Linked DNA regions of Homo sapiens: regions 2, 3, 4, 5 and 6 are each linked to region 1. The links are contacts of gene promoters, found by promoter capture Hi-C in blood cells and fetal thymus (Javierre and others, 2016). All regions are on one chromosome and are shown on one strand. The core of a region is centred on a gene start or on the middle of the fragment in contact, and the rest is flanking DNA. Distances in the headings are between cores, read along the strand shown. Region 1 holds the start of ZNF44 (zinc finger protein 44). Region 2 has its middle 2.9 kb from the start of ZNF491. Region 3 has its middle 10 kb from the start of ZNF439. Region 4 overlaps ZNF439 (zinc finger protein 439). Region 5 has its middle 5.8 kb from the start of ZNF69. Region 6 overlaps ZNF791 (zinc finger protein 791).

The links. The method cuts DNA at HindIII sites, captures the fragments that hold promoters and counts their contacts. A CHiCAGO score of 5 or more calls a contact.
Region 2: a fragment that was not itself captured here is called in contact with the fragment with the promoter of ZNF44 in region 1 in 1 of 17 cell types (monocytes); the score reaches 6.6 in monocytes.
Region 3: a contact is called between a fragment that was not itself captured here and the fragment with the promoter of ZNF44 in region 1, in 4 of 17 cell types (M1 macrophages, monocytes, M2 macrophages and 1 more). The highest score is 7.3, in M1 macrophages.
Region 4: a fragment that was not itself captured here is called in contact with the fragment with the promoter of ZNF44 in region 1 in 1 of 17 cell types (monocytes); the score reaches 5.2 in monocytes.
Region 5: a fragment that was not itself captured here is called in contact with the fragment with the promoter of ZNF44 in region 1 in 4 of 17 cell types (erythroblasts, total CD4 T cells, monocytes and 1 more); the score reaches 7.8 in erythroblasts.
Region 6: a fragment that was not itself captured here is called in contact with the fragment with the promoter of ZNF44 in region 1 in 1 of 17 cell types (erythroblasts); the score reaches 5.5 in erythroblasts.

The regions. Positions count from the first base shown.
Region 1 is chr19:12,293,230-12,296,840 of GRCh38, reverse strand. ZNF44 (zinc finger protein 44) reads left to right here and starts at 1,958. Exons shown (of 4, transcript NM_016264.4): 1 at 1,958-2,149. The coding sequence starts at 2,147. RefSeq lists an enhancer at 1,574-1,623 and a silencer at 2,174-2,403. The HindIII fragment of the contact is 16,141 bases long and covers 1-3,611 here.
Region 2 is chr19:11,793,780-11,797,390 of GRCh38, reverse strand. No RefSeq gene overlaps it. Among named protein-coding and RNA genes, the nearest start is that of ZNF491, 2.9 kb to the left of the region's middle. The HindIII fragment of the contact is 3,535 bases long and covers 131-3,611 here.
Region 3 is chr19:11,836,696-11,840,306 of GRCh38, reverse strand. No RefSeq gene overlaps it. Among named protein-coding and RNA genes, the nearest start is that of ZNF439, 10 kb to the left of the region's middle. The HindIII fragment of the contact is 1,799 bases long and covers 962-2,760 here.
Region 4 is chr19:11,862,059-11,865,669 of GRCh38, reverse strand. All of the region lies in intron 1 of ZNF439 (zinc finger protein 439), which reads right to left. Among named protein-coding and RNA genes, the nearest start is that of ZNF439, 15 kb to the right of the region's middle. The HindIII fragment of the contact is 6,893 bases long and covers 1-3,611 here.
Region 5 is chr19:11,880,222-11,883,832 of GRCh38, reverse strand. No RefSeq gene overlaps it. Among named protein-coding and RNA genes, the nearest start is that of ZNF69, 5.8 kb to the left of the region's middle. RefSeq lists an enhancer at 2,333-2,512. The HindIII fragment of the contact is 2,118 bases long and covers 861-2,978 here.
Region 6 is chr19:12,631,158-12,634,768 of GRCh38, reverse strand. It overlaps ZNF791 (zinc finger protein 791), which reads right to left. Exons shown (of 4, transcript NM_153358.3): 4 at 935-3,611. LOC105372279 (a long non-coding RNA gene) reads left to right here. Exons shown (of 4, transcript XR_007067142.1): 4 at 281-1,630. Among named protein-coding and RNA genes, the nearest start is that of ZNF791, 22 kb to the right of the region's middle. The HindIII fragment of the contact is 1,798 bases long and covers 732-2,529 here.

The sequences.
Region 1 (3,611 bases), core at 709-3,208:
TTAATCCTGGGCTCTTAGGCACAGCTAACTTTGGAAGATAGCTTAAATGATAATAAGCCTTCCCCAAAACTCAACTGCCTTTGTAAAACGAATGAATGGCCATCAGGCTGAGGGATGAAAGGAATCGGAATGCTGCTAAAGTGTAGACATAGATTGCCAGCTATTTCTGCAGATAACACCACTATTGTAGATTAGCATTTGTAGACGTATTTTCAGTTTTTGTTTGTTTGTTTGTTTTTTTTTTGCATGTCTGACACCACCTGCACCTGCCAACTCTGCTCCTGTGGCCCCAACCAGAAGTGATTCAGCATAACAGGATAGGTTTTTTTTTTTTTTGTCTTTTTTTTGTTTTTTTTTGAGACGGAGTTTCGCTCTTGTTGCCCAGGCTGGAGTGCAAAGGCACGATCTCGGCTTGGCGCGATCTCAGCTCACCGCAACCTCCACCTCCCGGGTTCAAGTGATTCTCCCGCCTTAGCCTCCCAGGTAGCTGGGATTACAGACATGTGCCACCACGCCCAGCTAATTTTGTATTTTTAGTAGAGACGAGCTTTCTCCATGTTGGTCAGGCTGGTCTCAAACTCCCGACCTCAGGTGATCCGCCCGCCTGGGCCTCCCAAAGTTCTGGGATTACAGGTGTGAGCCACCGGGCCCGGCCTCTTTTTTTCTTTTTTAAATATGTAGCAGTACAAGCCGCAGACAAGAACCCCTCAGACACCGAGTTGTGGAAGGAAAGGGCTTTATTCAGCTGGGCTGGGAGCATCGGCGGACTCACGTCTCCAAAAACCGAGCTCCCCGAGTGAGCAATTCTTGTCCCTTTTAAGGGCTTACAACTAGGAGTCCGCGTGAGAGGGTCGTGATTGATGGAGCAAACAGTGGGTACGTGACTGGGGGCTGCATGCACCGGTAACCAGAACTGAACAGAACAGGACAGGGATTTTCACAGTGCTTTTCCATACAATGTCTGGAATCATAGATAACACAGTTAGGTCAGAGGTTGATTTTTAACTACCCAGCCCAGGGCACAAGCCGGGTTATCTGCCTGTGGATTTCATTTCTGCCTTTTAGTTTTTACTTCTTCTTTGGAGGCAGAAATTGGGCATAAGACAATATGAGGGGTGGTCTCCTCCCTTATAGTATAGAGACGGAGTTTCACTCTATGTCCAGGCTGGTCTTGAACTACTGGCCTCAAGCGATCCTCCCACCTAGGCCTCCCAAAGTATTGGGATTACAGCGGTGAGCCACCACGCACTGCCAAGAGGACAGATTCCATCCCCAGTGATTTCATCCCCACCCCAACCAGTCAGTAGCAAGCCTAGCTACCTCCACCCTTTCTCCCAAACTGCCCTTGAAAAACCCCTACCAGAGGACCTTGGATGAGAATAATTTGAGTAGTAACTCCGTCTCTCACGTATCGTAGCTGGCCTAGTGTTTATTAAACTTTTTTTTTAACTGCAATACCGTGGTCTTTATTTGCGTAGCGCGCAGAAAGAACCCATCCAGCGCTTATAGTGGAAGAAAGGCTTGACCTTGCAGGCGACAGCCTCATCCCAAATTCCTGGTCCCTGGAGGACATCAGCACCACCCCCCCACCCACCCACCCCCTGTCCCCCGCTGCTACAGTGTGGCCTGTGTGGCCTCGGCTGCCCTCCTGCTCTGAGGCCAAGGGATGGCTCCACTGGACAGTGAGTCTGGGATTCCTTGCACACAATTGTTCAGGAGGAAGAAGCAAAAAGGGCCCACTGCGTACAGGTAGGAAATTCCGCTTTAAGGCAAACGTTTCCCGGGACGGGTCGGGTCACAACGCAGGGAGGAAGCCCGCCCTGCCAGGGGCCGGGTCTGGAACCTGTTCATCCGGCTGCACTCAGCACTGTGAGATCGCTTCTTCTGTCACTCAGTGCCCAGGAGGCGGGACCTGGAGGGCTACCCAATCAAAGTCGTGGGCGGGTTCCTGAGAATTGTCAATCAGGCGCGAGGCAGAGAGGAGGGTGTGACGTTCCAGGAGCTAGTGGCCTCTTCACCCTGGTGACCTCTGTTCCGTATTCTGTCACTGAGAGACGCCCTGGGACATCTGTGGTGGCTTTTGTCGCGCTGGGACCTACCCTGACTACGGGAGTTGGGAGGACCCGGGACACCGCACAGCCGGGAAATGGTGAGTGTGCGGGGCCCGGCGTCCTGAGGCAGGGCGAAGGGCTGGTCGGAACCAGTCGGAACCGGCTGTGGCGGGACCCGGGCCTCGCCGCAGCGTCTTTGGGGTCTGGGACCTGAGCGCCCCCTGCGCACCTCGGTCCTCGGTCCGTTTGGCCGCAGGGTGGGGCTGGGCCGGCAGCCGGGACCCCGGGCGTCCTGTCCCGTCCCTGAGCTGCGACTGCGGCCCCGGCCCCGGCGCCCCTCTCTGGGCAGCTCCGCGCCCTCAGCCCCGCTTCTCCCCAGATTGTGCGGCGGAACCAGTACAGGTTCGCAGCCCAAGTCACTGCACCCGGACGCCGAGGGCTGCAGCAGAAACGGTTTAATAGGAGAGGACACCCTAGATCCGCCTCCGTGAGAGGTTTGAGGATGGGGTGTTTAGGGGTCTGGACGGGGGTGGTTGGGATGTGGGGTCGCTGGTTGGTGGAGAAGTGAGGGGTGAATCTTGGGACTGGAGGTGAAGAAACCGCATTCTGCTGCTGAGTGGGCTTCCTTGTGGGGTCTTCAGCCTGCTTGGCGCCAGCCTTTCCGCTGGAATTCAAGATCTGAGAAAGAACTTAGACGACTCTTGAGCAACTCTCAGAGATCTTATCCCCAGGCCAATGGGGAAGCCGGCGGTCAGCGTCTGCTGTGACCTGACTCTCAGGGAGGCGGCTTCCTGTGAAGCAGCGGGGCTGAGGGCACCTGGTTAATATCTAACTGCAATCTCGCCTCCAGCCTGGCTCGCAGTTCCTGTGAGCCCGGTGAGGAGGCTGCACGGTGACGGTGGGAGGGTCACTAGGCACAAACCAGACTCGTGTGTGGGGTTTGTGTGTGGGAGGAGCTGTGGTCTCTGTGCTCTTCAGTCCTTTCTTTCCAAGGGCGACCATTTCTCCTCCGAGGCTTTCAAAGATATTGGCATCAGGGTCTTTGAGACCTGTCCCTTCATCCTAACTCCTCTTGGGGCTAACAGTAAATCTTTTGGTTTCCAGAGCCTTCCATATGCTAACTTCACTCCTCAATTCCCAGTAACGTTATGAACCCTTTGTCAGCAAGACGATATTTCAAATAGACACAGAATTTTGTCGTTTGTTTTCAGATAGCAATGTATGGCTCTTTTTAAACAGATTTATTTTGTTTTCCTTAACATTTCACATGTGAGGAAGAAGAGAATAACCACCTGACACTGCTGTAAAAAAAACCAAACCTTTGTGCCTCTTTTATCTCCCCTAGGCACAGATGCCTTCTCAGTATGTCCTTTACAGGGTGATGTGACCTCAGCCCACCCTGTATCTTTTCCAGGCCCTGTGTTATGGAACTTTCTGGGGCTACCCTAAGATGCTGGAAGCTGCCAATCTCATGGAGGGCCTAGTGGATATCGGCCCTTGGGTCACTCTTCCCAGAGGACAGCCTGAGGTGTTGGAGTGGGGCCTCCCAAAGGATCAGGT
Region 2 (3,611 bases), core at 649-3,148, 500 kb after region 1:
CTGGAAAACGGAGCCACACCTCGTCTGTACTAAAAATTTAAAAATTAGCAGTGCGTGGTGTCCTGAACCTGTAGTCCCAGCTACTCGGGAGGCTGAGGTGGGAAGATCTTGAGCCCAGGAGTTTGAAGCTTCAGTGACCTATGATCTCGCCACTGTGCTTCAGCAAGAGTTGTGATAGTTGTATCAGATAAAATAGACTTTAAATAAAAAACAGTACAAAAAGACAAAGAAGATCATGAGATACTGATAACAGAATCAATTCAGCAAGATAATATAGTAATACTAAATATATATGCATCCAACATTGGAGAGGCCAAATTAATAAAGCAAATATTTCTAGACCTAAAGAAAGATATAGATAGCAATACAATAATAGTATGGGACTTCAGCACCTCACACACAGTAGTAGATATATCATCAAGACAGACAATCAACAAAAAAATTGGACTTAAGTTGGACTTTGGACCAAATGGAGCTAACAGACGTTTACAGAACCCAACAACTGCAGAATATACATTCTTCTCATCAGTACGTGAAACATTCTCCAAGGTAGACCATATGTTAGGCCACAAAACTAGTCTCGACAAATTTTAAAGTCAAAATCATTTCAAGCATCTTCTCAGACTGCTGAATAAAACTAAAAATCAATACCAAGAGGAACTTTGAAAACTGTATAAATACATGGAAATTAAACAATGTGCTCCTGAATGATCTCTGAGTCAAAGAAGAAATAAAAACAGAAAATAAAAATTTTGTTTGAAATGAACAAAAATGGCAACACAACATATCAAAACCTCTGGGATATAGGAAAAGTCATGCTAAGAGGGAAGTTTATAGAATTATATGCCTCTGTCAAAAAAGTAACAAATTAACAACCTAACATGGTACCCCATGGAACTAGGAAAACAAGAACAAAACAAATCCAAAGTTGGCAGAAAAGAAATAACAAAGATCAGAGCAGAATTAAACAAAATCAAGACTAAAAAACAACACAAATGATAAACGAAACAAAAAGTTGGTTCTTTGAAAATATCAACAAAAGTAATAAACTGCTGGCTAGACTAACCAAGAAAAAAAAGAAGATTCAAATGAACAAAACCAGAATTGAAAAAGAAGACATTACACCAATACCACAGAAATACCATCAGAGACTACTATGAACAACTATATGCTCACAACCTAGAAAACCTATAGGTTTTTTTGAAACGTATAACCTCCCAGGATTGAACCAAGAAGAAACAGATATCCTGAATAGACCAATAATAAGTAGCAATATTGAATCAGCAATAAAAAAATTCCCAAAAATGAAAGCTCTGGGCCAGACAGATTTATACCAAAATTGTACCAAATAGGCCAGATGTGGTGGCTCATGCCTGTAATCATAGCACTGTGGAGCCTGAGACAGGAGGATTGCTTGAGGCCAGGAGTTTGAGACCACCCTGGCCAACATAACAAGATCCCATCTCTAAGTAAAAAAATAAAAATTTAAAAATCAACATTAAAAAAATTATACCAAACATACAAAAAGAACTATACTAATAATCCTGAAACTGTCCCTAAAAATCACAGACAAGGGAAATCTCCCTAACTCATTCTATGAGGCCAGTAACATCCTAATACCAAAAACAGACAAGGACACAACAACAAAACTACAGACCAATATCCCCGATGAACACGGATGTGAAAATCCCCAACAAAACACTAGCAAACTGAATCCAACCGCACATTAAAAAGATAATACAGCATGATAAAGTAGGTTTTATACCAGGAATGCAAAAATGGTCCAACACACACAAGTTAATATATGTAACACATCACAAAAACAGAATGAAGAATAAAAACCATATGATCATCTCAATAGATTTAGAAAACACACTTGATAAAATTCAGCATCCTTCATGATAAAAGCTCAAAAAACTAGGTACAGAATGAACATATCTCAAAATAATAAAAGCCACACATGATAAACACACAGCCAACATCATACTGAATGGGGAAATAGTTGAATGATAAAAACTAGAACAAGATTAAGGATGCCTACTTTCACCACTCTTATTCAACCCTAGTATAGGAAGTCTTGGCCAGAGCAATCAGGCAAGAGAAAGAAATAAAAGACATGCAAATTGGAAAAGAGGAAGTCAAATTATTCCTGTTCAGTGATATATAATCTTACATCTAGAAACGCTTAAGACTCCACCAAAAATCTCTTAGATTAGTTAAATTAATTCAGGAGTTTCAGGATACAAAGTCAGTGTACAAAAGTCAGCAGTGTTTCTATACAGCAACAACAATCTAGCTGAGAACCAAATCGAGAAAGCAATACCACTTACGAGAGCTACCAAATAACACCCCACCCCACATGGGAATATATTGCACCAAGGAGGTGAAAGGCCTCTACAAAAAGAAAAAATCTATAAAACACTGATTAAAGAATTACAGATGACACAAACAAATGGAAAAAACATTTCATGCTTATGGAAAGAACTAATATCAGAAGAATTAATTTCATTAATTATTCAGAAAGAATTAATATCATTAAAATGACTATACTTCCCAAAGCAATCTACAGAGTCAATGCAATTCTTATCAAAATACCAATGTTAGTTTTCACATAATTAGGAAAAACAATCCTAAAATTCATATAGAACCAAAAAAGTGCCCGAATAACCAAAGCAATCCTAAACAAAAAGAACAAAGTTGGAGGCAATGTTACAGGACAGGGGTCCCAATCCAGACCCCAAGAGAGGGTTTTCGAATTTCCTGCAAGAAAGAGTTCAAGGCAAGTCTGCAGTGCAAAGTAAAAGCAAGTTTATTAAGAAAGTAAAGTGGTGAAAGAACAGCTACTCCCCAGAAAGAGTTGGATGTTTCTGTAAGTAAGAGGAGGAACGCATCCACCCTAGGTACAATGATGCTTGTATATATGGGCAGATGTGCTCTGCTATAAGGGTCCATGATAAAGGATTAATTTTCTTAATTACTATATTTTGCAAGAATTGATATTATTATCTTTAAAGCAAAATTAGAAATGCCTTTGTTCTCCAGATATTGGGATATCTGGACACTACCAAGTCTGGGTCTTGGTAAACATTATTAATTTGTTCCTTTAACTGTAAACACCTAGAAGCGAGGTATGCCTAACTTTCTGGGAATGAAGCCCAGCAATTCCCAGCCTCACTTTCCTAGCCCTCAGAATGGAGTCGCTCTGGTTCGAATGCCTCTGACAGCAACACATTACCTAACTTCAAGTTATACTACAAGGCTATTGCAATCAAATCAGCATGTTACTGGTATAAAAATATACACAGAAATAAATGAAACAGAATAGAGAACCTAGAACAAAATCCACATATTTACATCCAACTGGTTTTTTACAAAGTCAACAAGAACATACATTGGGGTAAGGACACCCTTTTCAATAAACAGTGCTGGGAACACTGGATTGCCATACGGAGAAGAATGAAGCTGGACCCTGATCTCTCTCCATATACAAAAATCAATTCAAAATGTACTTAAATGTAAATCCCAAAACTATAAAAATACTAGAAGGAAATCTAAGGAATTCTCTTCTGGACATTGGTCTAGGCAAAAAATGCCGGATTAAGACCTCAAAA
Region 3 (3,611 bases), core at 612-3,111, 460 kb after region 1:
CATGCCTCAGCCTCCTAAGGGATGGGATTACAGGCGTGAGCCAATACACCCGGCTAATTTTTGTATTTTTAGTAGAGATGGGATTTCGTCATGTTGACCAGATTGGTCTCGAACTCCCGACCTCACATGATTTGCCCACCTTGGCCTCCCAAAGTGCTGGGATTATAAGTGTGAGCCAATGCGCCTGGTGTGAGCTTTCAATGACCTCTCTTTGTAGGCTTGTCATTGGCCTTAGCTTGCAGTCCCTGGACTCAGGCCTCTGTTTCAATGAGAAAATACCCACTGTTTGAAGAATCCAGCAAAATCTCTCAAACTCAGTTTATGTTTACAGGCAGGCAGGAATTTATAAGGCACTTACCTTTCATCCTCATCAGGGAAAATAAAAGTATCTAACCCTTTCAGTCAATAAACATATTGAGAAATGTGTTTACACTACTATGTAATTGCTCCTTCCCTGTGCATGTCAAAAAGATTCTCTTCCTTGTTCTTAGGCTGTAAATGATTAGAAAAGACAGAGAAGTGCCAGAGGTAGGATCCTTTTGAGACCACTACCCCTCCTTACAAAAAGTTAAAGCAGGCCGGCTGCAGTGGCTCACACCTGTAATCCCAGCACTTTGGGAGGCCGAGGCAGGCGGATCATGAGGTCAGGAGTTTGAGACCAGCCTGACCAACATGGTGAACTCCGTCTTTACTAAAAATACTAAAATTAGCCGGGCATGGTGGCACGTGCCTGTAATCCCAGCTACTCAGGAGTCTGAGGCAGGAGAATTGCTTGAACCCGGGAGGTGGAGGTTGCAGTGAGCTGAGATTGCGCCATTGCACTCCAGCCTGGGCGACCGAACAAGACTCCATCCAAAAAAAAAAGTTAAAGCAATCATCCTTGAAATTTGGTAGCTGCAACCTATCAAATCACTGAAATGTGTGCACCGGCCTTGTATGGAAAATGTCACCCTGTTAAGCTTCATTTTGCCCTATAGAAGAGAAGACTCAAATTCCCCGTGTTGGAGCACTGACCCCACTCTTCAGGATATCTGTTTCCCCAGTGGCTATCCTCAAACTATGTGCTCAGATAAACTCAGCATTTAATCATATTCTCTGAATCTTATTATCTTATTAAGGTGCACAATATTATTTCATTATTATTTCCATGATAACAAAGCACATACTACACATTAATCATATGTGAACACAAACATATGACAACAGTTGCCAGCCAGGTCTTACCCCACAGATAACAGGAAGAAGAAGAGTTATCCACCATTACAAGTTCCCCAACCTGCAAAGGAGGACTGGTATTTTGCTGAATCTTTGTAATTCACCAATTTATCTACTATACTTTATTGTGGAAGATTATTCATTTTCTCAAGCTGTAATAAAAGATTTTCTCTATTTCTTTTCCCAATCAGCATTCTCAACGCTATGCCCTGAAACTCTGTTACAAATCATCCAAAAATGGCCATGCACTGTGGCTCAAACTTGTAATACCAGCACTTTGGGTGTAGTGGTGTGTGCCTGTGGTCTCAGCTACTACGGAGGCTGAGGTGGGAGGATAGCTTGTGCCTGGAAGATGGAGATTGCAGTGAGCTGAGATTGTGCTACCTCATCCCAGTCTGGGCAACAAAGCCAGACCCTATCTTAAAAAAAAAAAAAGGAAAGAAAGAAAGAAAAAGAAATAAAGAAATCATCCACAAAAAAGGACAGACTTAAGAAATGTACTACACCACATCTGAAGAAGAAAAAAATTAAGAATTTTGAGACTGGGTGCGGTGGCTCACGCCTGTAATCCCAGCACTTTGGGAGGCCAAGGCTTGTGGATAACAAGGCCAGGAGTTCGAGACCAGCTTGGCCAATATCGTGAAACCCCATCTCTACTAAAAATACAAAAATTAGCCAGGTGTGGTGGCACGTGCCTGTGATCCCAGCTACTCAGGAGGCTGAGGCAGGAGAATCACTTGAACCCAGGAGGCAGAGGTTGCAATGCCCCGAGATCACACCAATGCATTCCAGCCTGGGTGAGAGAGCGAGACTTTGTCTCAAAAAAAAAAAATTTTTTTTTTGAAACAAATGCTATATAAGACTAATGATTTATTTCTGACATCTATTTTTATCTTGGCTCTGTGCAAAATTTTCTTATTTTTCCAGCTGTAGTGAAAATGCAATTTACAATTAATTTTAAAAATCTGAAGCTGCAATAAGTGAACAAATATATATATATATATATATATATTTTTTTTTTTTTTAGAAGGGCTCTCACTCTGTGGCCCAGGCCGGAGTGCAGTGCTGCAATCACAGTTCACTGCAGCATCAATCTCCCAGGCTCAGGTTATCCTTCTGCCTCAGCCTCCTGGATAGCTGGGAGTACAGGTACGTGCCACCATATCCAGCTAATTTTTTGTATTTTTTGTAGAGAAGAGGTTTTGTCATGTTGCCATGGCAGGTCTTGAGCTCCTGGGCTCAAGTGATCCTCCTTCCTTGGCCTCTGTGAGCCACTGTGTCCAGCAACAAATAATTCTTTACAAGGGAACAAACCCTGTCTGGGTATGGCGGCTCATGCTTGTAATCCTAGCACTTTCGGAGACTGAGCTGGGAGGATTGCTTGAGAAAAAGAATTAGATAACAGCCTGGGCAACATAGCATAATCCTGTCCCTATTACTTAAAAGTCTAAATAAAAGTCTGAAAAGCAGCATTTCCCACCTATTCTCTATGAGGGAGCCTTCATCTACATAACAAGGTCTCCTTAGCTACACAGGAGGTAAGCTTCTTCCTTTCCTCTTCCCTAATCTGTCTTGCCATTAAACCTGACTTACCCACCAAACCCGGGATTTTTTGGCCAGCCAAGTCTGCATTCTTTCTTGGCCTCAGAATGGTAATATAAGCTTTTTTGTCTTATTGTTGGGTGGGTCTTCATTCTGAAGGCTCCCATATATACATGTTAAATAAATTTGTATGACTCTTCTCCTATTAATCCAAGTTCCATGATCTGAAAAAATTTTTCCTGTCTTTTCACCTTATTTTATAAAAAAAGTGCAAGACCATGTATATCTAAAAATGAGCATTTTTGTATCTCAGAAATCAAGATATTTTCCATATATAACCAGAAAATGGTATTCATATTTAAAAATGTCCTAATATCAACACATTGAGGGATATTAAAACATCATTAATAGCGTAAAGTGGAATTCTGGAAGCTTAGCTTTGAATACATTTCATTTTGTCTGTTAAACATTGAAGAGAGTATGTGGTGTTAGGATATGTATTTGGTTTTCATCTAGGGTAATAATGTTGGGTATGTTAGGCCTCCGGGAAAGTCCTTGACCTTCTGCTGCCCTCCTTCCACTCTAATGTTTCCCCACCTTTTTGATTGTGGGTCTTAAAACCCTCCCATGAGAGGGTCCCACTGACTTCATGAAGTTTTTTCCTACAGAGTGTAGCCTTGGAAATACTCATTATATACCCTATCTGTAGCTGTGTGTCTGAAGGTAGTTCCAGAATAAACCATGAGTGTGAGGATTGCTTAAATAACTTATTTCTAAATGCTGAAACAAAAATTTCAGATTTCCTTGTCTAACCAGATGCAGAAAAGCATATGTTATAGATAAAGCATCAGGAC
Region 4 (3,611 bases), core at 460-2,959, 430 kb after region 1:
GTCTCCTTGGACTGTGGGTCTGTAGCACCTGTCATAACAGAGTACTATGAATTAATATGCAGAAAAAAGTTAACATTAGCAGTCCTGAAGCTGTGTATCCTTGAAAATGCCTGTTCCCAAAGTGTAATCTTTGATGACATTGTTAGAGAAGGCAGATATCTAGCCAAGAGCAGGAAGGGTAGCCCCTGGGAAATCCCACAACCCCAGGGACCACCCAAAACAGGCATGCTAGATATAAGCAGAGAGGAGGGGAGACACCTAAGTAGAAAGAAACATCCATTATGATGCCCAGGAATCATTCAGTTTGCAGTTATCCTGTCAGAATGTAGCTAGATAGATGCTGATAAGAAGGGCAAACAGGACATTACTGAAAAAAACAAGACCGTAATTACACAAGAGGGCAAACAAGAAACTCCTAAGAGATACCCAGGTGTAATGAGCACAGATTTAACCACTATACGACCTTCCTGGGGTGGCAGTAATGAGCAATGCAGCCACCCACATATCCATTGATGGCTGAATGGATAAACAAAATGTGGTAAGCATATACATACAATGGAATATTATTTAGTCTTAGAAAATAACATCTTGGCCTGGTGCGGTGGCTCATGCCTGTAATCCCAGCACTTTGGGAGGTGGAGGCGGGCAGATCACCTGAGGTTGGGAGTTCAAGACCAGTGTGACCAACATAGAGAAACCTTGTCTCTACTAAAAATACAAAATTAGCCGGGCATGGTGGCGCATGCCTGTAATCCCAGCTACTCAGGAGGCTGAGGCAGGAAAATTGCTTGAGGTTGGGGTCAGTCAATATTGTGCCATTGCACTCCAGCCTGGGCAACAAGAGTGAAACTGCATCTCAAAAAAAAAAAAGAAAGAAAGAAAACAATATCTTGGCCCATACTACGACATATATGAAACATCAGGATAATTGCAAAAGGCAAAATACAACAGAATTCATCTTAGAGAACTTACATAGATTTGTCAACCTATCTCAATTGTACATGTAAAATTCCTTAAGCTGATAATTTTTAAGTTTTGTTTTATAGTAAGTATTGATAACAAATCACGGTAGCAGCCAGGCGTGTTGGCTTATGCCTGCAATCCCAGCACTTTAGGAGGCCAAGGTAGGTGGTTCACTTGAGGTCAGCAGTGTGAGACCAGCCTGGCTAACATGGTGGAACTCCATCTCTACTAAAAACACAAAAATTAGCCAGGCGTGCAGCGAGTGCCTGTATTCTCTGTTACTTGGAAGGCTGAGGTGGGAGAATCCTTTGAACCCGGGAGGCAGAGGTTGCAGTGAGCCAAAATCCCACCATTGCACTCTAGCCTGGGCGACAGAGTGAGACTCCATCTCAAATCAAACAAAAAATGAGAAGAATGTCCTAATAGAGGCAGAAAAGGCATGTGACAAGCCTTAACCCATTTGAGCCCACTGTTCCATTTCTGGAACGCTAAGCATGTGGGAGTTATTTGTATCCTACTGCTCAAGGTCATTACCAAAGTCTGATTTTTCACACGTCTGCAATTCAAAAAATTGCAACCTCTAGCATAAATGGGTTGATATCTCCTCATGATTAAAAACACTTAATAAACTAAATATACAAGAGAAGATTCCATATGATCGCAAGAGAGGCACTAGGAACATAGAAAAATCTACTATAAAGACAAGTATTAAAAATGCAAAACCGGAGGTCAAGGCGGACAGATCATTTGAGCCCCGCAGTTCGAGACCAGCCTGGGCAACATAGTGAGACCCTGTATCCATAATAAAATAAATAATTAGACATGGTGGCACAAAACAAATGGTACTGAAACACCTGGATTAGCAAATGCAAAGAAATGAATTAGACACAGAACTGAACCTTTTACAAAACTACCTCCTGATGAATCATTTACTTAAATGGAAAATGCAAAACTCACAACTTCTAGAACTTAACACTTGTGAAAACCAAGACAACCTTGGATTTGGCAATCAGGTTTCACACACAACACAAAAAACATGATCTGTGAGTGAGAAAATCGATAAATTGGACTTCATTCAAAATAAAACTCTGTTTGGGAAAAGAGTCTGTTAAGAGAATAAAAAGACAGGTGGCAGACTGGGACACAATATTTGCAGGACACCTATCTGATCAAGGACTGGTACCCAAAAGATATGAAGAACTCCTAGAATTCTATAAGAAAAAAGCCAACTAATCAAAAAATAAAAAGGCCGGGCATGGTGGCTCATGCTTGTAATCCCAGCACTTTGGGAGGCTGAGGAGGGTAGATCACTGAGGTCAGGAGGTTGAGACCAACCTGGCTAACATGGTGAAACCCCGCCTCTACTAAAAATACAAAAATTAGCTGGGCGTGGTGGCATGAGCCTGTAATCCCAGCTACTCGGGAGGCTGAGGCAGGAGAATCACTTGATCCTGGGAGGCAGAGGTTGCAGTGAGCTGAGCCGAGACTGTGCCACGGCACTCCAGCCTGGGCCAGAGAGCCAGACTACAACTCAAAAAAAAAAAAAAAAAAAAAGCAAAATCTTTCCAAGCATACCTCTCTCTAAAGAACATAATTATGGCAAACAAACATATGACAGGATGCTCTACATTACATGTTATTAAAGAGCAAATGAAAACAGGCTGGGCACGATGGCTCATGTCTATAATCCAACAGTTTGGGAGGCCGAGGCAGGTGGATCACCTGAGGTCAGGAGTTTGAGACCAGCGTGACCAACAAGGTAAAATCTCATCTCTACTAATAATACAAAAATTGGCTGGGCATGGCGGTACATGCCTGTAATCCCAGCTACTTGGGAGGCTGAGGCAGAAGAATCACTGGAACTGGGGAGGCAGAAGCTGCAGTGAGCTGAGATCACGCCATTGCATTCCAGCCTGGGCAAAAAGAGCAAAACTCCGTCTCCAAAAGAAGAAAAAAAAAAACAACAGAAAACAACAATGAGGTAACAGTAAATACCTGTTGCGGTAGATGAAATCCAAAACACTGATACTTCCAAATGCTGGTGACAGTGAACTCTCATTCACTAGGGATGTGAATGGAAAATTCTACAGCCAATTTGAAAGACAGTCTGTGGAGTTCTGAAGAAAATAAGCACGGTCTTATGGATTCAGTAGTCTCATTCCTACATATTGACCCAAGTGAACTGAAAACTGATGTCCACACAAAAGTCCTCCCACAAACATTTTTAGCAGCCTTACTCATAACTGCCAAAATTAGAATCAAACAAGGTGAGTCTTAAAAAAAAAAAAATAGAGGAGTTCTCACACTGTATCTACCAGGCTGGTCTCTAACTGCTGGCCTCAAGCAATCTTCTCACCTCAGTCTCCCATGTAGCTGGGAATTCAGGGATGAGGCATCACACCAGGCTCAAGATGAGCCTTTCAATAGATGAATAAAGAAACAAACTATGGTAACATCCGTACAATGGAATGTTACTCAGTGATGCAAAAAAATGAGTGGCCGGACATGGTGGCTCACAAGTGGAATCCCAGCACTTTGGGAAGCTGAGGCAGGAGGATCACCTGAGCTTGGGAGTTTGTGACCCTGTCTCTAACAAAACAAAAAAATTTTTTAGATAAATAAATAAAAATAAAAACTAAATGAGTTGT
Region 5 (3,611 bases), core at 670-3,169, 410 kb after region 1:
GTTTGATTGAGTTACATTAATGACAAGGTGGTCAGCATTGGAAGGGGAAAAGAAGAAAGAGTAATAGAATAGATGTAAGAGGTTAAATTTTTCTTAGCTTTAGTTTGAGGGGGTTTTCCCCTGGAATAATGGCCTACGACTTTGGGGGTGGCGGTGCTTTCTTGACTCGGGTGTGATGGGTCTATCCTTTCTCTGCTGTCCAGACTGCAGTTTCAATGGTGGGAAGTACTAGGCCAGCTCCTCAGGCCGGTGTTGACGCACTGGGAACTCCAGGAGCCGCACCTGTACTGGAAAATTGTGAGTTTTGAGGGAAGAGAAAGTGGAAGATAAACCAAGTATGTAGGAATGTTGGCAGTGGATTGCTTTGAGAGGTAGTTTGGATTAATAGGAAGACAGAAGACATTTGAGTTATGGCAACTAAGTTTCTAGACTTGTTTGGCTAAGGATGTACATTTTCATACACATATAAACTTTAACTGTGCTATACATAGCTTGAGGTCTTTAATGGGTCCTCTAATTTAGGTGGGATAGGACTTCTTTCATAAGAGGTTTAAATAACATTTGAATTCCCTTCAGTGCCTACAGGAGAAACGGCAGCTGGTTCGGATTATCTGATTTGCTAGGTTATTTTCTTAACTCTTGAAAGATAGGATTTTTGGTGCCTGGGGACGTGGAAAATAGCTTTTTTTTTTTTTCTGGTAACTGAAGGTTATTTAACACTTGGGTTATTAACTCTTCATGAACAAGGCTTTGACCTTTATTATTGTCTGAAATTTTCTAAATGTATGAGCCACGATAAAGGTGTATTTAGAATCAATATAGATTAGTATAGATGGTTCCTTTGCAGTTACTTTAAAGCTTGACTAAGTGCAAACAGCTTACAAATTTGGGTAAACTATTAAACAATTTTTAAATTTTATTTCTCTAGGAACTTCTCTATTTATTATTGAACATCTGTTGAATCCTTTTTCCTTTAATCATTTTTGAAGGGGGTTTCTCTTAAGTTTGGCCGGACATTTGTATGGTAATCAGTTAAATCTAAACATGTGTGCTTCCTTTTTAGATTTGGATCTTTCGTTAAGAAACTTGTTAGGTTAAGCAAATTACTAGTAACATTAAACTATCATTTTTAACAGAATAGCCTCATATTTATACACATGTAATTCTTTTTTGGTGGTACATTTTAACATAGGTGACTTTAAAGAATCAGAGTTCTTTTCTGGTGGATATTTTCACTTTTAACACTGGCCTGACTATAATAAATGCTAGTGGATATATCCGCTGAAAGATTATCTACTTCTTGCTCAGGAAACTTAGCTGCGGGGATGCCAGGCTGCTTGGAGCCATCGCTGAAGCCCCGTATTACTTAGCCTCAGCAAAGTAAGGCAGATATCCTATAATGTAGTTTGCATGGGGCATAGGCTGGGGCCTGGCTCGCATGTCATGCAGAGCTGCCGTCAATACAGTGCCAGGACCTTGGACCAGCCAGTGGGCAGGAGCATGGGCTTTGCCGCTGCAGGGGTGCACTATGGGCCAGACAACGCTGACAACATGTTGCGGCAGATCCTTCATGTTGCTAGCCTGGCAAAAGCCATCTGGTGAATTAGGAGCTTGGAGTTCTTTAGGGGAGAGGGACTTAGGCTGGGGAAGAACAGACTTACTGGGCGATGCCTGAGGGGAAGGGTTGGGTATTAGGTGGGGAATGGTCTAGGGGATCTTGCGAGTTGTTCTTTTTGCTAGGATCCCCCAAGCCCCTTCCTTCACTGTCTTTTTCATTAAAGATGGTTCTATCTTAATAGGGCACATGTACAACTCATTTTCCTCCAAATATTAGTTTTTGACTTGCTCCTTTCAATCCTTGGAGGAGGGGAAAGGACAACTCCTTGCAACTAACATAGGGCATAATTTGTTTCTTCTCAGGAGGCAGGTCTTCTACTAGCAACATTTTCTATTAGAAGTTCACAAATCCATCCCTCATTCGACTTAAATTCTGGCCAGAAAACTAAGGGTTCAAGGATTCGTTCTTGAGTCTAAATGGAACAGCAATATTTTATCACTAATTGCTTTTTCTTATGTTTAGTCTTTTCATTATCTTTCTAATGTTTTAACATGAGACCTAGGGGACTATTAGGGGGGATATCTTTGTTGCTAACTTTGTCTTTTTTGCTTGTAATATTTCCTATACTGGGTCCTGGCTAGGCTCAATCCCTCGTGATAGGAATCTCTTGCCTAGGGGGGCTTGCTGTGGCTCAACCCCTCATATTAAGGATCTCTTGCCTATTTTGGGGGTTCCTTGTGGCTCAGCCTCTCAAATTAAGGATCTCTTGCCTATTTGGGGGGTTCCTTGTGGCTCAACCCCTCATATTAGGAGGTCTTTTGCCTATCCCTCACTGGAAGTGTGGCTAAGGCTCAATTCCACTATCCTTTAGCTCCACCTGCTGGAGGTTCCTTGCACCCTTCTTTCGCTTCATCCACTCTGGCCGCTTCCCTCGCAGGTTTGTTTCAGGTTCCTCTTAGCATTGATGGCAGGTCCGTATAAACCTGTGACAGGACCCCCGCAGGGCTGCCCTAAGCCGTGTGAGGTGACCACAGAACCGCAGATTGGACTCACTCGCTCCGCACAGCAGTAGTGCTTGTTACCATTCATGCACTTTCAACCCCCAGAATGCCCTGACACACCCCTCCGACTACCAAAGAATTACTTTGTTGCCCCTGCAACGTTTCCCACCTTGGTCTGTGCACAGAGTTTACCTGGTCGCTGCGGTATTGCAAGCCTCTCTTCCCCGCGTTGCTGAGAGTCCGGGTTTATTCGTCAAAATGGGTGGGTCTCGATCTCCTGTCCCTGAGGCCACCGCAATGGGGCAGTGGGACGCGTCTCCCCAGGGTAGGGTGACTGAAGAACTCTTCCAAAAGGAGCATGGGGATCTCGGACGATCCCCTAGAATTGTTGGATATAAAATGCTCCCGGAATAAAAGCTTGGTGCCGTGAAGTAAAACCAGCACTCAGGCAAAATTTTAATTCTCTCAGCAAGGCAATTTACTACTGCAGAAGGGTGCCACTCACGTCAATCAAGATCACAAGAGCACAGAGAACAAAGGAGACCAGGAGGTTTTTATCCTTAATGCGGTCCCTATCTCTGTGTTACTCCCCCATGGGCTGGGGTCGGACCGCACAGTCTGAGCTGACCCGATTGGCTGCTTGTACATATTTTTCTAAATATAGAAGGGGAGGGGGATGTGAGGTACAGAGGTGGAGCATGTGAGATGTGCAGTTTTGGGGGAACAATGGGTACAGGTAACCAAGGGAACAGATGTGAGTTATTGATTAGAGCTGATGGGAACGGGGTAGGCTGTTTTAAAGTAACTAGGGGCAAGGAGGAACAGGAAAGTTGAGTTTGAGAACAAAAGACGAGGAAGTTAGCAGGCTAAATCTTTAAAGAAAAACTTAAAGAAATTCACTGTATCTTACAAATCTGACCCCAGTGGCCCCATGCATGTCAAACCCCAAACCCTGCCCAGAAGACAGCCCCAGGCTCCAGAGGTACAACACCAGAAAGGACAGAACCCCCACACATACGTGTGCATGTGGGTCTTCTGCTTTCCAGGGCTCT
Region 6 (3,611 bases), core at 381-2,880, 340 kb before region 1:
ATCCCAGCTACTCGGGAGGCTGAGGCAGGAGAATTGCTTGAGCCTCGGAGGCAGAGGTTTCAGTGAGCTGAGATCGCGCCATTGCACTCCAGCCTAGGCGACAGAGTGAGACTCTGTCTCAAATAAATAAATAAATAAATAAGTCTATGAAACATTTATTTCTGGAATTTTCCACTAAGTATTTTTGGACTGTGTTTGACCATGAGTGACTAAAACCACAGAAAGCAAAACTTTGGATCAGAATTGACTACTGTATTACCATAATTAATTCTGAATACAGGTGTGACCGTGGTGATTGCTGGCAATAGGGCACTGAAAATACCACTGTTTTGAAGAGAATTTTGTTTTATGACAAAATGTAAGTATAAGAATAAAAAACATCTAAGGGAAAAATACCAGAACATTTATGCACATGCTAATATTGAGTCAGAATGTATCTTGACAAAATGACAAAGTTGATCTGAATATTCATAACTGTAATGGGATATTTTAATATAGCCTTTCAGGAAACGGGGAAGACAATTATTTGTTTTTGAACTAATAGAGATGGGGTCTTACTATGTTGCCCAGGCTGGTCTCCAACTTCAGGCCTCAAGCAATCCTGCCTCAGCCTCCCAAATTGTTGGGATTACAGCCATGAGCCACTGCACCCAGATGATGATAATATTTGATAGTATACATGTTGTTTGGAAACAGTTAACAAAATATTTCTAAGAAACATCTAAGAAGCTTTTGCTTCAAATAAATAAAAAATGCATTATTTTAGTTGCATACAACCAAACATAAATGAAAATAAACCGATGGAGAATATTCAGGAATAGTTGGAAACACCCACAATTTGTCTGATATGAGGAAGGTGATTATTCTCAAATGGAAGGATGGGGGAGAGTAGTCACTGTATAATGCAGTAAGAGAACAAACTCCCATATAGTTGTTTTTTTTTTTTTTTACTGTTTTACTGTAGCTGTCATGGTGGAATCAGGAATACATAGTCCCTAGTGGCATTAACAGAACAAGAACCATACAAATTAAAGCTCATAGAAACACAAAGGGAAGACAGAACCTCAGAGAACAATGCCAACCATGACAGTCTGAAATAGATGCTTGGGCCACACATGAAGGCTAGAAGGAAAATCCAAACTGTACGTGGATCTTTGATGCGGAGCTTGTGGAGACAACTGTGGAAACCAACACATCTCTTTGAGAATGGAAGTCAAGCAGCTCAGGGTGTTTTCAGGATACTTTTGATTGGCAGAGAAAATAACCAGGAAAATGAGCAGGAAGCAGGCTGTCTCCCTGTATGGTGGGGTTCCAATACCTGACTAATGTCTTCTTCACTTCTGCCTGGCAAATCTCATGCAAGTGAGGCTATAAGTGAATTTCAACATGGATCTATAAAGGGAACAGATTCTAGGAAATTTACCTGTGTCGACAGGTAGCAGGAGGGCCACGTCCAGCTCTAGATTTTATTGTCCTATCACAGGTGTCCTTCCTGAATTCAAACTCTACTATTCAAATCCCAGACAGAATTATAAAAAAAAGGCGAAAATAATAATTCGCATAAGAATATATGATAAACTTCACATACTTACCAACTTATGCCAGATGTTTAATAAAAAGGAAAATGGAATAAGGCTCTTCTAGCTGAAATTCATTTTATTTATTTATTTATTTGAGATGGAGTCTCGTTCTGCTGCCCAGGCTGGATTGCAGTGGCACGATCTCGGCTCACTGCAAGCTCCGCCTCCCGGGTTCACACCATTCTCCTGCCTCAGACTCCTGAGTAGCTGGGACTACAGACGCCCGCCACCATGCCCAGCTAATTTTTTGTATTTATAGTAGAGACGGGGTTTCACTGTATTAGCCAGGATGGTCTCAATCTCCTGACTTCGTGATCCGCCCACCTCGGCCTCCCAAAGTGCTGGGATTACAGGTGTGAGCCACTGCGCCCGGCAAGAAATTTATTATATTTTAATTTAATTTTTTTGATATGGAGTCTCGTTCTGTTGTCCAGGCTGGAGTGCAGTGGTGTGATCTTGGCTCACTGCAACCTCTGACTTCCAGGTTCAAGCATTTCTCCTGCCTCAGCCTCCCAAGTAGCTGAGATTACAGGTGCCCTCCAACATGCCCAGCTAATTTTTGTATTTTTAGTAGAGATGGGATTTCACCATGTTGGCCAGGTTGGTCTCGAACTCCTGACCTCAAGTGATCTGCTTGCCTTGGTTTCCCAAAGTGCTGGAATTACAAAGGAGTGAGCCACCGTGTCTGGCCAAGAAATTTAAAAAGCAGTTTTTCGGAAAAGGTGAAATAAATATATAATGGGTAATATATGCACCACCTTCCACATGAGGCCAGTAGGAAAAATCCTAGTTACAGTGTGTCAGTATTCAACAATCTCTTTATTCAGAGAACAACTGAAAAACTATACACAAATTAAAACTAATTGTATATTAAAAATACACTTCTACTAACACTGGTCTTTAAAAGAAAAAAAAAATACACTTCAGGCCGGGTGCGGTGGCTCAAGCTTGTAATCCCAGCACTTTGGGAGGCTGAGGCGGTCGAATCACGAGGTCAGGAGATTGAGACCATCCTGGCTTAACACGGTGAAACCCCATCTCTACTAAAAATACAAAAAAAATTAGCTGGGCATGGTGGCGGGCGCCTGCAGTCCCAGCTACTGGGGAGGCTGAGGCAGGAGAATGGCGTGGACCCGGGAGGCGGAGCTTGCAGTGAGCCGAGATCACACCGCTGAACTCCAGCCTGGGCAACAGAGCAAGACTCCGTCTCGAAAAAAAAAAAATACACTTCAGTTTACTCATGAATCAAGACATCAAGAGAAAGAGAAAAGTTTTACTAACTGATTTAATGAGAAAACACAACCTTTTAAACTTTTGACCACTGCTTAAAGAGTACTTACAGAATTATCTCACTTCCAAGACTTCTTGGAAAAGTAGTTAAGTTACAATTCATAGTCCAGAGATGTACTTGAAGAATGAGCCAGTGATAAAAAATTTTTAACTTTTTTTTGGTGTGTGGGATGGAGTCTTGCTCTGTTGCCCAGGCTGGAGTGTAGTGGCACAATCTCAGCTCACTGCAGCCTCCACCTCCCAGGTTCAAATGATTCTCCTGCTTCAGCCTCCCAAGTAGCTGGAATTACAGGTGCATGCCACCACGCTCAGGTAATTTTTGTATTTTTAGTAGAGATGGGGTTTCACCGTCTTGGCCAGGCTGGTCTCGAACTCCTGACCTCAGGTGATCTGCCTGCCTTGGCCTCCCAAAGTGCTGGGATTACAGGCATGAGCCACCATGCCTTGCCTTAACTTTTATATCGTGTGTGATGAATTTATATCATGGTGTGAATTTTCTGGAGCATTTTACAGGCAGAGATTGCTTAATCATGGGTATATGTTCTGAGAAACGTGTTGTAGGTGATTTCCTCATGGTACAAACATCACAAAGTGAACTTACACAAATCTAGATGGTATAGCTACAACACATCTAGACTATATGGTACAGTCTATTGCTACTAGGCTATAAACCATACAACATGTTGTTGTACTGAACACTGTAGGAAATTGTAACAAAATGTTAAGTATTTATGAGTCTAA